2 separate regions of the Homo sapiens genome follow, and region 2 is linked to region 1. Evidence: promoter capture Hi-C in 16 types of primary human blood cells and fetal thymus (Javierre and others, 2016). All regions are on one chromosome and are shown on one strand. The core of a region is centred on a gene start or on the middle of the fragment in contact, and the rest is flanking DNA. Distances in the headings are between cores, read along the strand shown.

The links. The method cuts DNA at HindIII sites, captures the fragments that hold promoters and counts their contacts. A CHiCAGO score of 5 or more calls a contact.
Region 2: a contact is called between a fragment that was not itself captured here and the fragment with the promoter of TTC21B in region 1, in 1 of 17 cell types (non-activated CD4 T cells). The highest score is 5.5, in non-activated CD4 T cells.

What each region holds. Positions count from the first base shown.
Region 1 is chr2:165,952,110-165,956,061 of GRCh38, forward strand. It overlaps TTC21B (tetratricopeptide repeat domain 21B), which reads right to left and starts at 1,667. Exons shown (of 29, transcript NM_024753.5): 1 at 1,576-1,667. The coding sequence starts at 1,596. RefSeq lists a silencer at 1,518-1,917 and an enhancer at 1,682-2,431. The HindIII fragment of the contact is 9,565 bases long and covers 1,282-3,952 here.
Region 2 is chr2:177,264,684-177,268,635 of GRCh38, forward strand. NFE2L2 (NFE2 like bZIP transcription factor 2) reads right to left here and starts at 44. Exons shown (of 5, transcript NM_006164.5): 1 at 1-44. RefSeq lists a silencer at 1-187. The HindIII fragment of the contact is 1,496 bases long and covers 1,518-3,013 here.

The DNA.
Region 1 (3,952 bases), core at 417-2,916:
TGATGAAGATGACTAAAAGCCACTCCATACTCTAGAGCAGGGTTTGGCAAACCACACTCTGTGGGCCATATCTGGCTGGCTGGCTGTACAGCCAGTGAACTAAGAATGGTTTTTATATTTTCCAGCTGTCAAGGAAAAAAAAGAAATATTTCATAACATGAAAATTACATGAAAGTCAAATTTCAGTGTTCATAAATAAAGTTTTATTGAAACACAGCCATGCTCATTTAAGTATTGTCTATGGCTGTTTTGAACAAGCCAATTAGATGTGATAGACCATACGGTCCATAAAGTCTAAAATGTGTACTATCTGGCCCTTTGTTGAGAAAGTTTGCTATTCTCTGCTCTGGAGGCTTAAGTGAGACAGAGAGTATTGGATGATGAGGTTGGAGACGAAGGTGGGGTGAAAAGCCTCATATTAAGTACTTGGACTTGAACCTCAAGTCTAAGTAATGAGGAGGCCCATTTTTACATTTTACATTAAAGTGTTTTTATTAAAATGTTCATTTGGGTGGCAGTGCAAATAATACATTTAAGGGAATAAAAAAATGTAAGGATATAGGGGGATAGCTAGAACAGAGGATAATGTAAAACTTCAGGCAGAAAAACAAGACATTTCAGCATTCCCTAACCTCCTACATCGCCAAATTGTCCTCCATCCACTTATCACCATCTCACAGGATACACATTTCATTTACCTACTTGTTGTCTGACTCCTCCTACTCAAATGTAAGCTCCAAGATTGGAAGAGTTTTTCTTGGTTTTATTATTTCAGTGCTTAGAACAGTGCTAGACACATAGGAGGCATTCAGTAAATATTTGTTGAGTCAACTGAATTAGGGTTTTTCCCCAGCATTAATTAGCCTGTAAAATCTGAGAAGGCAGAAACTGTTCAGTTTTGCTCACTGCTATCTCCAGCTTCTAATGGACATACAGTAACCCTTCATAAATATTTGCTGAACGAGTGATTCAGTGAACAAATGAATAGAGAAGACCAACATCCGAAAAGTTATTTTATTTTCAAGCCTCATGTCTTTAACTGTTTTATATCAGCCTTTCTTAAGTTGACCGTCATTAATATTTGCTGAATGAATGAGTCAGTGATAAACAGAGAAGACCATCACCCTAAAATAACGACCCCTCCACTTTTAAGTCTTACGTCTTTAATGGGTTTCATATAATCTTTCTGCGCTCTTTTTACTGTCCAGTGTGGGAGCTGACACTAGTTTGCCTTAAGTCCTTAAAAATCGCACCCGGAGGCGCAGTGTCATAGGTAACCCAAGCTTTCCTAGTAAACATGATACAAAAGTAAACACAACCAACAGCATGGGGACCAGCAATTCAGAAACACCGAGCGGGCGGGCTGCCCAGACCTGGGCTTCCCCAGCAGGGCCCGCGGAGACCGGCCGTGAGCAGAGGCTGCAGGCCCACCCCGCAACCCGAGCAGCCGGGGCACCGCAGGGAAACAGCGGCCTAGCGAAGCCACCCGAGCTCCCTCCGCGCCCCCGGGCCAAAAGGCCGCAAAGGAACTCCGCCCGCCCGCCCGCTCACCCGCTCACCCGCTCACCCGCTCACCTTCAATTCCTGCGAGTCCATGGCTGCCCCGAGGCCGGGCCGCGGGGCTCTGGGGATTGTCTCGCCGCAGCCTAAAGGAAGACGCAGAATTCAGCTCCCCTAGCCTCCCGGAGCGCTCTAGCGCCCCGGGCCCCAGCGGGAGGGGCGGGGTCGCGCCGCGATTGGCTGTCGGAGGGAGAGGCGGGCCTGTGTGGCGGGGATCGTGCTGTAATGGAGCAGGGGCGGCGGGGACCCGGAGGTGAGGGCTGCGAGGGCCGCCCGGGAGGGTCCGGGCTGGGAAAAGGGCCTCCGCCGGAGAGTGCAGCTGGAAAAGGAGGTCACACTGGGAAACGGCTGTCTGAGGACAGTGGGTGGGCGGGCCGAGGAAATGGAATTCAGGAATAAAGGAAACGGAGTATGAAGAAGGGGAAGTCTGTTTCCTGTCACTGGTTGTAAAGGAAGACACCATTTTCTGCACGTTTGTCTGGAGGCGGATTCCCGCAGTGCGGCTCTCAGCAAGGCTCTGCCGGCGCGGGAAAAAGCGGTCAACTTTCACGTGGGCAAGTTGTTTTACGGCCACAAGGTGGCGCAGAAAAAAAAAATCACACGTTCTTAACAGAAATACGGTGCGCTTGGGCCCGTCTTTGCAGGCGTTGCTGCAATCTTTGTTAGAATGTGTGTTCAATTAGCCCTTTTTTACCAGCCCCGATAATAAGAGGGACAAATAAATTAAACTTCCAGAAAATTAGTGTCTTGTTTTCAATGATACTACTGATTTTAAACTGAGAATAAAATGAATCCCAATGCAAATTTTTATGTTTGCACCCCATTAGGCAACTCAATCAGTCACACATAGATTTCTTAAGTCCAGGAAATTAAATGGAAATATAATAGACTAAGATTTTCTATTTCTGCTTAAATAAATATTTAAAATAGTGCATAAGGTCTGAGATTTAAGTGATCTTTGCAGAATCTTTCACGTGGATTCCAAATTTTGATCCTAGTGTTAATTATCTTACTTTAGTTGACATGATACGTAGTTGCCTTTTCCAGATTTTAAGTTTCTTAAGGAGTTTATAAACATTGACTTTTTCCCCATGCCAATAGGTTATGTAAGGACAGTCTTGAGAAAAACGGTAGCTACCATCCTAGGCTTTAAGGTGAAGCAATATTTCTCACCGGTTTCTCTTTAAAGGAATTCACCACGTATTTTCACGAGCAACTTTTTTTTCTTTCCAATATTTATAGTCCAGCTAAATGTCTGTGGTGATGAACAACTGGTGATATCTCTTTGATTTTCAAAGCTGCGGATTAATCCGCACTTGGTATACAGCAAAGAATACCACAGGACCAGGGTGCTCAATGAAGTGTATAATCTTGAACTGTAAACCTTTGGTTATAAGAGAAAAGTTCATCTGTAAGGAAATATCTCAGGATCATGGTTAACAGAACAGATGATCAACCTACCTTTTGGAGATCTTGAAAGTCATATTAATTTAGCCTCGTATTCTCTTCACTGAATTCTGTTCTAAGGTTGAATTATTTAGCACAAAACACCAAGCCTGATGTTTCATAAATGTTTGTTGGATTAAAAGTACTCTGAGATTTGCTTTGACACTCACGGTGACTTGGTGTGCCCTGTGCCCTTACTAGATCTCATGTAAGAAATTTATTTTGGATCTCAGGCCAGGAAAAACTCTTGTCTTTCCTGAAAAATCGATGTGTTCCTTAGCAGTAACATTTTTATCGGCTCACTTTTACTAGCTACAAACTTTTGAGTCTGATATCCATGACCCTTCACCTCATCGTCTTTTCAAGCCTTATCTTCTACCTCCCCTTCAAGGAGCCTTTATTCCGCTCAGTGGGACAAATATTCCTTCTTCTGGTAATGCTTTCCCCTACTTTGTTTTGAGCTCTTTCTTCACCTGAGAAAATCTCCTTCTTCTGAGTTCATTTCAAATTTCATGAAGTCTTTAAGGATCACCATAACTGGATGGGTATAAAAATATCACAGTGTAGTGGCAAGAATACCCTCTTCTGCATCTGAGGTGGAGCTCCTATTACGCTAGCTACTTTTGTGACTTGGGGAAGTAATTTCCCTAAGCCTCATTTTCCTTATTTACTAAAGAAACTAAATGCCTTACAGACATATTAAAACTTCCTGACACATAATAGGCATTGTATAACCAATAGTTTCCATTAAACACGTAGTGCTCTATAGCAGTGGTCCCCAATCATTTTGGCACCAGGGACCAGTTTGGTGGAAGACAATTCACAGAAGATAAATTTTCCATGGACAGGGGTAGGGGAGATGGTTTCGGGTTGAAACTATTCCATCTCAGATCATCAGATTCTTATCTAAGGAGCATACAGCCTAGATCCTTCACATGCACAGTTT
Region 2 (3,952 bases), core at 1,016-3,515, about 11 Mb after region 1:
GGCTGCGTCGGCGGCTCCTCCGGGCTCCCCGGCACTCGGTAATCGGCTACACGCCGGCGGGCCCCTGCCCCGCTCCGCCTCCCGCCCCACAAGGGCGGGGCAAGAGTCCGGGCCCTTCCTTCCCCCGCCGGCCGCGCGGGCTGAGCTTCCGAAAATCCCCCACCCGCGCCGGGGCTGACGCAAGAAGCTCGCGGTCCGGGGGCGGGAAGGGACTGCCAGCTGGGGTCCCAGCAGGCGGGGGACCTAGAGGAGGTCTCCGTTAGCTCCCCGGTGCCGGCGTTCAGTTTGCCCTCCCCCGCAAATAAGGGCAGCGCTCTCGCCCGCGAGATAAAGAGTTGTTTGCGAAGGTCGCTGGAGTTCGGACGCTTTGAAACAGTTTAAACAGTTGGAACAAACACACCCGGAGCCCCGGAAAGGCGTTGGTGTAGGAGCTGCGCCTCCCTGATTTGGAGTTGCAGAACCTTGCCCTGCTTTTATCTCACTTTACCGCCCGAGAATGGCGCCAGCCGGGGTGGGGGGGGCTAAAGATTTGGACCCAGACCGTGCCACTGCCAACTGCCCTCCCGCCCTTGCTCCCTTCCCGGGCTGGGGCCAGTGGGCCCTGCCTAGGGGAGATGTGGACAGCTCCGGCAGCTCGTGTTCGCAGTCACCCTGAACGCCCTCCTCTGAACTCCCACGTGTCTCCATTCTCCTAAGCTCAGGTCGTCAAAGGCAAACGGAGAAGCCCCTTTAGGTCGGAGAGTGGTCAGTATTGCCCACCCAGAGCTGGGAGAAAAACGGGAACCCCAAGAGAACCTCTTCCCACCAAAGCGCAGCCACCACGCCACAGATGGCGCCCTTCAACAGTGTGTAATACCACAACATGCTGTAATCGTTTACTCTTTACAAATTTCTTTTTCACGTACTCACAAAATAGTACAAATTAAAAAAAGTTACAAAAACGTTTGTATAGTATTGGCTCATTTTATAAAAACGTGCCTAGAAAAAAATTGAAGGTTACCAATATATTAAATGCTGTGGAATCAACGATTTTTATGTTTCTCCTTGTTACTTCCAAGTATGCTTTAAATCTGCAGTGCGTATGTTTTATGTCTTACATTAAAAACAATTATTTAAAAATTAATCATTGCCCAGAGAAGACTTCAAGTATTTGAAACGAGGAATATTGTGAACTCTTATAAGGGTTCAAAGAGGATAGATAAATGGTTTAGTTTTGTTTTTTTCTTCCTCTTCTGCATTTACAATCTTTCTAACTCTATACAAGACTGGTTTTCAGTTTCTAGCTTCCTGGAATTATTCAAAACCAGGTGAAGTAGATAATACTGGCAGTGGTTTTGCTATTTCATTCAAAAACCACACACACACCCCTGACTATAGCAATCAACGCCCAAAAAGCTGCAGAGCTTACTTTCTCTAGGTTGCATAATTTGACACTCCCAGGATTTATGTGTAAATTTGTATATTCAGATATTCCTTGAGATAAGTGAAGCCTAAATTAATTACTTGTAATTGAAGCAAGCTTCTTTAACTCCTATTAATTCCTTTCAGCTGTTATGTGAAAACCCTGCAACATGATCTGCACAATGAAAACAAGTTAGGAGAAAACTGTTTGCAAAGGACCTCACATGAAAGATGCAGAGACATAATAATAAAATAACATTTCTGAGTCCAAGAAAAAGACAAGAGTAAATTGTTAACAATTCAAGTTACTTATTAAAATTACGACATCAGAGAAGGTAGACAATGAGCCTAGTAGGTAGGAGATACCAGAGTCATATGACATGGTTACTGCTCTAAAGGAGTTTATAAAGTATTTGGTATTTCCTTGTTAAGCCACAAAATTTCCATTGAGTTTAGACTGAATGAAATAACCTTCACTTTTCCAATGCTGCAATTTGCTGAGAGTGTGTTATTTCAGGCATCTGCAGAGTACATATTTTCAAAGGGAGGGGAGCAATATGATAAGAGTTTGAACTTGTTTAAGAAAAACAAACACTAAGGAAAAGCTGTTTGGCATTTGGTTTAGCCAAATAAAGGGAACCCCATTCTCAAGACCACCCACGTCAAGGAGGTGCCCAATCTTGGCAGACTCTGGAATGTGATTGTCTTCATATGAGAGCCTGAGCCCTTGCTTTGCCCTCCAAACCTGCCTATTGTGTTAGGAGGGCACAGATAATGCATGTTGAGAAGCTCTGGAGGAGCAAGAAAGAACAAGAAAGAGGAGGTGCTGGTTTTTCTCTCCTGTCTTGCTGCCATGGGATCCTTTTTTGCTGCCAGGCTCTCCTCGCTACTATTTGGGAAAAATACCCTCCAATTGGTTTTATGTTCTATTGACTCTTGTACCTTTTCATTGATTCCTGAATCATTTGCTGTCTTTGGGAAGACGGCCTTCCCTACATGCTTGAGATGTGTCAATTGTGATACCTTGCTCCAGATTGCTCATAAAAAATAAGCATCATTGGCCAGGTGCTCTGGCTAACGCCTATAATCCCAGCACTTTGGGAGGCCGAGGCTGGCGGATCACGAGGTCAAGAGATCAAAACCATCCTGGCCAACGTGGTGAAACCCTGTCTCTACTAAAAAATACAAAAATTAGCTGGTTGTGGTGGCATGCGCCTGTAGTCCCAGCTACTCAGGGAGGCTGAGGCAGGAGAATTGCTTGAACCCAGGAGGCGGAGGTTGCAGTGAGCCGAGATCACGCCACTGCACTCCAGCCTGGCGACAGAGTGAGACTCTGTCTAAAAAAAAAGTATCATCAAGTAAGTCTTCTGGGTATAAGAAGTCTGGATAATGGTGATGCATTGACCCCTTAGTTCCACCTCCTTTGTGCTCCAATCTGCCAAGTTGCAAGGTGCAAGAAAGTACCGATTGTTTCAAAATCCTCCATCACTTTGAGGCTTCTTCCTCTCTCTGTCACTTCCTCTCAATTGTTCTCCATGTTTGAGCCAGAAAATATTCATAATCTTTTAGAATTGTAGTTGAAATTCTACTTTGTCCAGTGTAAAGTATAGAAAGCTTCCAAAGATGGCACCCAGTAAACCACCTCTCCTGATATTGAGGCATTTGTCTAGTCCCCTCATATTGAAACAAGCATGGCTGGCCCTGCAACTTGCTTTAAGGTATGGAAAGAGGCCAGAAGTGACATTATGCCAGGTTTTAACCTAAGCTTGAAAAAGCCCTGACAGCTTTTAATTTTATACTCTTGGAAGTCAGCCATCATCCTAAGAGGTCTGACTACCTTGATGGAAAGAGAGGCCATGGGAAAAGTCATGGAAGATGAAACTCTAAATGGAGAGAGAGAGACTATGTGAACCAACACACCAGACATGTGAATGAAGAAACCATCTTGGACCTTCGAGCCCACCTATTCAAGCCCCCAAAGAACTCCAGCTCCAGCTGCTATATGACTGCAGTCACATACAAGAGACTGTAAGCAAGACCGGCAGAAGACTCCCTGGCTAAGCTAAGTCAACACCAAGAACTGTGAGAAATTATAATAAATCACTTTCAGCTATTAAATTTGGGGGTGGTTTGTTTCATAGCAATTGATAACCAAAACAGCATACTGTATGTATGGTGACTATCAAAGGCAGGGTTTCCCCTGGCTGCTCTTTGTTTGTTAACCAACATTGGGAGCACAAACAGGGAGATGATACTTGGTGATTTAATAAAACTCAGACTCTCAGAAGAAAATGACTTCCCTGGGAATGAGGAAGCTGTCTTTCCCATAACATATCTTTGTTGCTACATACAAAGTAAAAAACCTCATCACACCATGCATAAGTTTCATTTTATTAGACGATGGAGAGATAGTCTCCTTATCAAAATACACTTCACGAACACAGACATTTTATCAATGAAGTAGATGGAGGGATAAATGCATACAGAGGTTCTGACCGTGATATGACCTCATTTGTGCCAGTTATGTAAGATACTCGCTGAATATCTGCTT